Linked DNA regions of Homo sapiens: region 1 is linked to region 2. Evidence: promoter capture Hi-C in human tissues and cell types (Jung and others, 2019). All regions are on one chromosome and are shown on one strand. Each heading gives the region's core, a stretch centred on a gene start or on the middle of the fragment in contact. The rest is flanking DNA. Distances are from core to core; before and after follow the strand shown.

The links. Contacts are between HindIII fragments. The study calls those that stand out against the background at their distance.
Region 1: a fragment that was not itself captured here is called in contact with the fragment with the promoter of AHDC1 in region 2 in 4 of the 25 tissues and cell types used here (IMR-90 fibroblasts, dorsolateral prefrontal cortex, lymphoblastoid cells and 1 more).

What each region holds. Positions count from the first base shown.
Region 1 is chr1:27,760,676-27,763,443 of GRCh38, forward strand. FAM76A (family with sequence similarity 76 member A) reads left to right here. Exons shown (of 9, transcript NM_152660.3): 9 at 1-2,441. Among named protein-coding and RNA genes, the nearest start is that of STX12, 11 kb to the right of the region's middle. The HindIII fragment of the contact is 6,157 bases long and covers 1-2,768 here.
Region 2 is chr1:27,602,724-27,605,473 of GRCh38, forward strand. It overlaps AHDC1 (AT-hook DNA binding motif containing 1), which reads right to left and starts at 1,421. Exons shown (of 9, transcript NM_001371928.1): 1 at 1,383-1,421; 2 at 1,005-1,140; 3 at 674-771. RefSeq lists an enhancer at 63-112 and silencers at 596-675, 1,226-1,765. The HindIII fragment of the contact is 10,400 bases long and covers 1-2,750 here.

The sequences.
Region 1 (2,768 bases), core at 22-2,521, 160 kb after region 2:
AAGAAATCTCTATTTTATTACAGTTATCCTTCTTTGTGCGATTGCAGTGGGCTGAATGGAAACACCTGGTTTGTGCTGTGTTAGACTGCATGCTTGAGTGTTTGGGATTTCAAGCTCGCTCTCTTTCTCTCACTATTAGGACTTTTCTTTTTCTTCTTCCTCTTCTCTCTATTTTGGTTCTATTCTTTTTTTTTCTTTTTTCTTTTTTTTTTTTTTTTTTTTTTTGTGGTGGTCACTGCTCAGTGTAATGTGCAGAATGATTTGTTTTTTGTTTTTTTTTTTTTTTTTGGTCCTTCATTGCATCCTGCCATACCCATGAGCAAACAGTTTGGCATTAATTATATATCACTGCCACCCTCTGAACTTTGAAAACTGCCATCTTCAGACTTGGTATAATGGAAGAGGCTTTCTCTCTCCAATAAACCTTTTGCTTCAGGGTATACTCTTCGGTTTTTTTCCAGATGTATTATGTATGAACTTTGTACTATGTATAGCCAGAGTTTTATTTATTTTTTAAAAAAGAAACTTTTTCTTGATAAAGGAATAATGGTGGTCTAGCTAGTTCTTGTAAAAGTGATGCCTCTTGAAAAAAAAACAGTCCTATTCACTAGCTTTTAGTAAAAGAATCAGATCTTTTCTTTCTTGTTACCTTGGAGTCTTAAAAACTGATTGCTAAGGTGAAACAATTCAATGCATAAGTATGGAGCTAAGTGCCTTTTGGAGGATTTCTTGGAAGAGCATTTATGGAGATACTTAAGGGAGGTAGCAAAGATTTGAACCGTCTGTCTTTTTAAGTAAGGGCAGAAAGCAAGGTTGTCCAGGTTGTACTGGACACTTCTCTCCCCACCCCTTTCCTGATTGTTTTATGTGATTGATTTTAAATTCTCACACTGCCACTTCTTTAAAAAATAAAATCCTTTATTTGCTTATATCAGTTGTCATACTGGGCTGCTGTCAGAGAATGTTTTTTTACATGAATGAACAGATTAAAAATGGAATAATATGGTCGGGTGCGGTGGCTCACGCCTGTAATACCAGCAATTTGGGAGGCCAAGGCGGGTGGATCATTTGAGGTTAGGAGTTTGAGACCATCCTGGCCAACATGGTAAAACCCCATCTGTACTAAAAAAATACAAAAATTAGCCGGGCCTGGTGGCATGCACCTGTAATCCCAGCTACCCAGGAGGCTGAGGCAGGAGAACTGCTCGAATCCCGGGAGGCAGAGGTTGCAATGAGCTGAAATCGCAACACTGCACTGCAGCCTGGGCAATGGAGTGAGACTCCGTCTCAAAAAAAAAAAAAAAAGGAATAATATTTGAACTACAGAGCATTTTTGGGGTCAGCATGAGCTGCTCTAGTAAGGACTCTTGAGTCTGGGAAAAGTGGTATCACTATACCTTCTCCCCACTCCTCACCCACCCGAGCCCATACACTCCCTGCTTTTCATGGATATGTATTGAAAACAGGTGCTTCTCAGAAGCACTTTGCCTCAACCAGAGTTATGTATGCCCTGCCTATCTTCCCTTCTTAACCCTGTAGGAATATGGATTTACTTTTCCAGGAAAGGGGATAGATTTACATTTCTAGGCATACTCTCAGGTCCTCTATGTGATGTTTGTGAAAGGAATTAGGGTGTGTCATGTGTGCCATGAAACAACAAAACCAACTACCCTAGAATCATTTATGCAGGGGGTACTAGAGTTAGAAATAATAATGAGGGCAGATAACATTTGTACCTCAGTCTACCAAAAAATTATAGTACTAAATTTAACTTCTAGGCGTTTCCTGGAAGCAGATGCTCTATAATTTGTGATAGCATTCTCATAAATGGAGTCCTACACATAATTGGACAGAGATGTGGAAATGGTGGTTTCCTTCTGATAAGGGATACAGTGGACCATGTCGCTTATATATCACCCTACTAGGGGATATAATTTTCCCTTCTAAGCAAGGGAAATGGCAGTGCTAAATAGTTTTGTAAAGTTTTTGAATGAGAAGCTTTTAGGTAAAGATAAACTGTCATAATATTTTTCAGATGCATTTGCATTGACTATGGGAGAAAAATTAGGGGGAAATGACAGTCATGGTGTTTTTTTTTAATTTTAAGGACTGAAATTCTGTTACATGATGTATGACAATATAAAAACATACTTAGTTTTATACTAAATCTTTTTTTAAGGTCTTGGCATTTAATATAAAGCAAATTCACACGTTTTCTAACTTTCCATAAGTTCCAAAAAGGGAAAGAAGAAACCTCAGTCTTGAAATTTTGATTTTTAAAAATCATGACACTGTTTTACCATGAAATTGAGTAGCTAACTTTTGGTAACACCTTTTGTTTCTTTGTATGTTTGTAATAATGGACATTTTAAAACACAGGAATGTTTTGGTTTGTACAGACTTTGACAAATGTGTGTTAATAAAAATTCATATTGACTCAAGTGTAATTGTTGGATTTTGTTTTTATTTCTTGCTGTTTACCAGTAGACATACCCCGTTATCCCCTTCAGCCCTTCAGCCTAGAAAAGTTTGTCTTGCTTATAGACTTAAAAAATTAAAAGCCTAACTGCTAATTGGGAATTTCCTGTCCATTAGAGAATAAACTCTTTCTTTCTCTCTTCTATGACTGTTTTGAGACAGAGTCTCACTCAGTCATCCAGGCTGGAGTACAGTGGCAAGTAGATCACTGCAGCCCCGACTTCCTGGGGATTCTCCCACCTCAGCCTCCCAAGTAGCTGGGACTACAGATGCACGCCACCATACCCAGC
Region 2 (2,750 bases), core at 171-2,670:
TATGCAAAAGTGAGCCGACTTTGTTCGCCAGGTAACCGGGCACGCGGCCCAACCCCTCCAGCCCTAGCCGCCCCCAAATCCCTCCTCCGCCCCACACCCCCTCCGGGTCATTAGGTCCCCGCCCCTCAACTCCCCGAGAGCCAGTGGATCCTAGGGATTTGGGGGTTGGAGGGGAGGGGCTCCTCCCTCCGCAGTCTCCCCTTTTCCCAGCGCCGATCCTAAAATCCAGCCTTGTTCTCCGCTCCCACGGTCCCCCCTTCATTCCCCCCCCCCCCACATTCTCAGCAAGCTGGAGAGCAAATTGCAGTTTTAAATCCAAAGGCGGAGGGAGGGGGAAGGAGGAGGGGGCGCGCGGCAGCGCTGGGCGCGCACCTCGCCCCCGAGCCGGGGGAGCCGCGGGGCGGCCAGGAAACCCGAGAACCCCCCCTCCCCGCCCCCCCTCCCCGTCCACCTCCCCCTCCCCCTTCCCGGCGCTGCCTGCCAGGCTTCGAGCCGAGCCCAGCCGAGCCGCGGGCCCCGGTGGAAACAAAGACCGATCGCACCGCGGGCACCGCAGCCACCGGGTCCAGCGGACCGGACCGGGGGACGCAGGCCCCCCCCGTGCGCTGCACAAAAGAGCCTGGCCGGCCGGTCCCCAGCGGGGGTCTGGGGCTGGGGAGGAGGCGCCACTCACCGGAGTGCTGGGCTGCCGGCTCCGTGGGTCCGAGCCAGGCGAGGGGTTTTGGGGGACGTCTGTCTTCCGGCGGTGGCAGCGACGCGGGCGCCCGGCTGCTGAGGAGAGGAGTCGTGGAGGAGCCCTGAGCCGCCCGCCGTCGCTGACAGCATGGCTCGCGCCTCGGCTCACATTCTCCGCCGCTAACTCCGCTGGACACGGCCCCCCGCTCCCGCGGCGCCCCCCCACCTCGATCACTCCTTCGCTCTCTCTGCGCCCCCCTCGCCCTCCCGCCGCGCACACACTCTCCCAGCCCTGGACACCCCCGCCCCCACCCCCCCCAATAGCAAACCTGGGAGGGAACGCGCCCCGCGTAGTCCTCCTGCTCCTCCTCCTCCGCCCTCCTCCCTCCCGCTCTCTCTGGCTGTCTGTCTGTCTCTCAGACTGTCTCTATTTCTCGCTCTCTCTGCCTTTCTCTGCTCTCCAAGCTGGGTGGGAAAAGGAAATGAGGACAGAAAGCAGACGCTGGCTTTGGGTGGTGGTAGCTGGATTCCCTCTCTCCCTCCCTCCCCCTCCTCCCCTCCCTCCTCCTGCCTTCTGCTCTCTCCGCTGCGAGCGGGGCTGAGCGCAGCCTGGCGGGTGGCTCGCTCTGCCCGCCCGCCCGCCTGTCTGTCTGTCTGGTCCGCCTCGCTCGCTCCCTCCCTCCGTCTCTCGCCCTCGCCCTGCCTGCCTGCCTCTCTCCGTCTCCGCCGCCGCCGCCGCTGCCTCTGCGAGCTCGCCTTACCTTCGCCGCTCACCATCCGGAACCCCAGGGGGGAGCGCGCGCGCGGCACGCCGGGACTTGTAGTCCCCGCCCCGGCCGCTCCGCGCGCGGGGAGGGCGGGGCCGCGCCGGCTGCTCCGACGGCGCGGCCAGGAGCCCCGGGGACCCCGCGCCTGGGGCTCGTCTGGCTGGAGCGCGTCCTCGTTTACCAACGGGCGAAGATCCTCCCCAAGGGTTAAGAATGGTCCCTGTGTTCCTTGTCTCCACCGGGGGGCTCTGGATCGAGCGGAGGTTGCGGGTGGGAGTGAAGGGGCGGGGTCTGAGAGTGGAATGGGAGTGGAATAGGGAACCAGGGGATTAGCCAAAGGGGCTGCGACTTTCTGGGGCGTCCCAATTAAATGGGAGGGGGAGAGGGCAGAGGAGAGGACCGGCTCTCTCAATCTGGGGACGTTATCCTTTTCTGAAAAGGTTTCTTATTGAGTAAAGCTCAAGTATATATGGCGGGAGGGCTGCTGGGGCGGGGGAGCGGGGGAGACCCAGCCAGCGCTGCTTCCTCACTCAGTGACCCCTCCTCTCAAACTCCGACCTCGGTTTCGCCCTTGCAACTCCCAGCTTTCCTATATGTCCAAGGGCGGCGAGGGCTCAAAAGTCCTGGATAATCCGCAGATAGAACACACACACCCTTTTCCGAATTCTGCTGAGCATTTGCGTTGTGTCAGGAAGCAGGATTCAGATTGAACGGTGCTGACCTCCTGCCGCGGCCGGGGGCTGGGCTCAGCACTTTCACCTACCTCCTCTTCAGGTCACATGTGTTCTCCAGCCCCTGCCTAGCCTATCCCACAGATGGGAATGTGCGCTGCTTGGGGGCCTTGTTACCGCCCCCGGAGATGGCTGAACTGCTGCGGTAAAATAGTGCTGTTATTTCCATTTTAGAGATGGGGGCACTGAGGTCCAGGTTCTCCAGTTAGCAAGTGGCTGAACCCAGCTGGATTTGAACCAGGGTCTGACTAACTCCAAACCCCACAAGCTTAACCCCTGGGCTATGACAAGGAGTTGTGACTCCCTCCATTTCTGTAACTGACCTTCTCTCCCTGTGTCTGTGTGTCCTTTCTTGGCACTTCAACAAATGTTAACTGAGGTATGCAGGGCTTGCAAGGGACACGGAGATGAATAATGCATAGTGGCTGTCGTGTCCTGTGTCCTAGGTGTCTACCAACGCCGGCCCTGACTGGCCCTGCGGCGGTCCCACCTCACTGGACCACCTCATCTGTGTGTCTGATGTTCCACACCCTGTGTCTGCTGGCCTTGTCTATCTTGCTCCAGGTCTGAAGTTCCT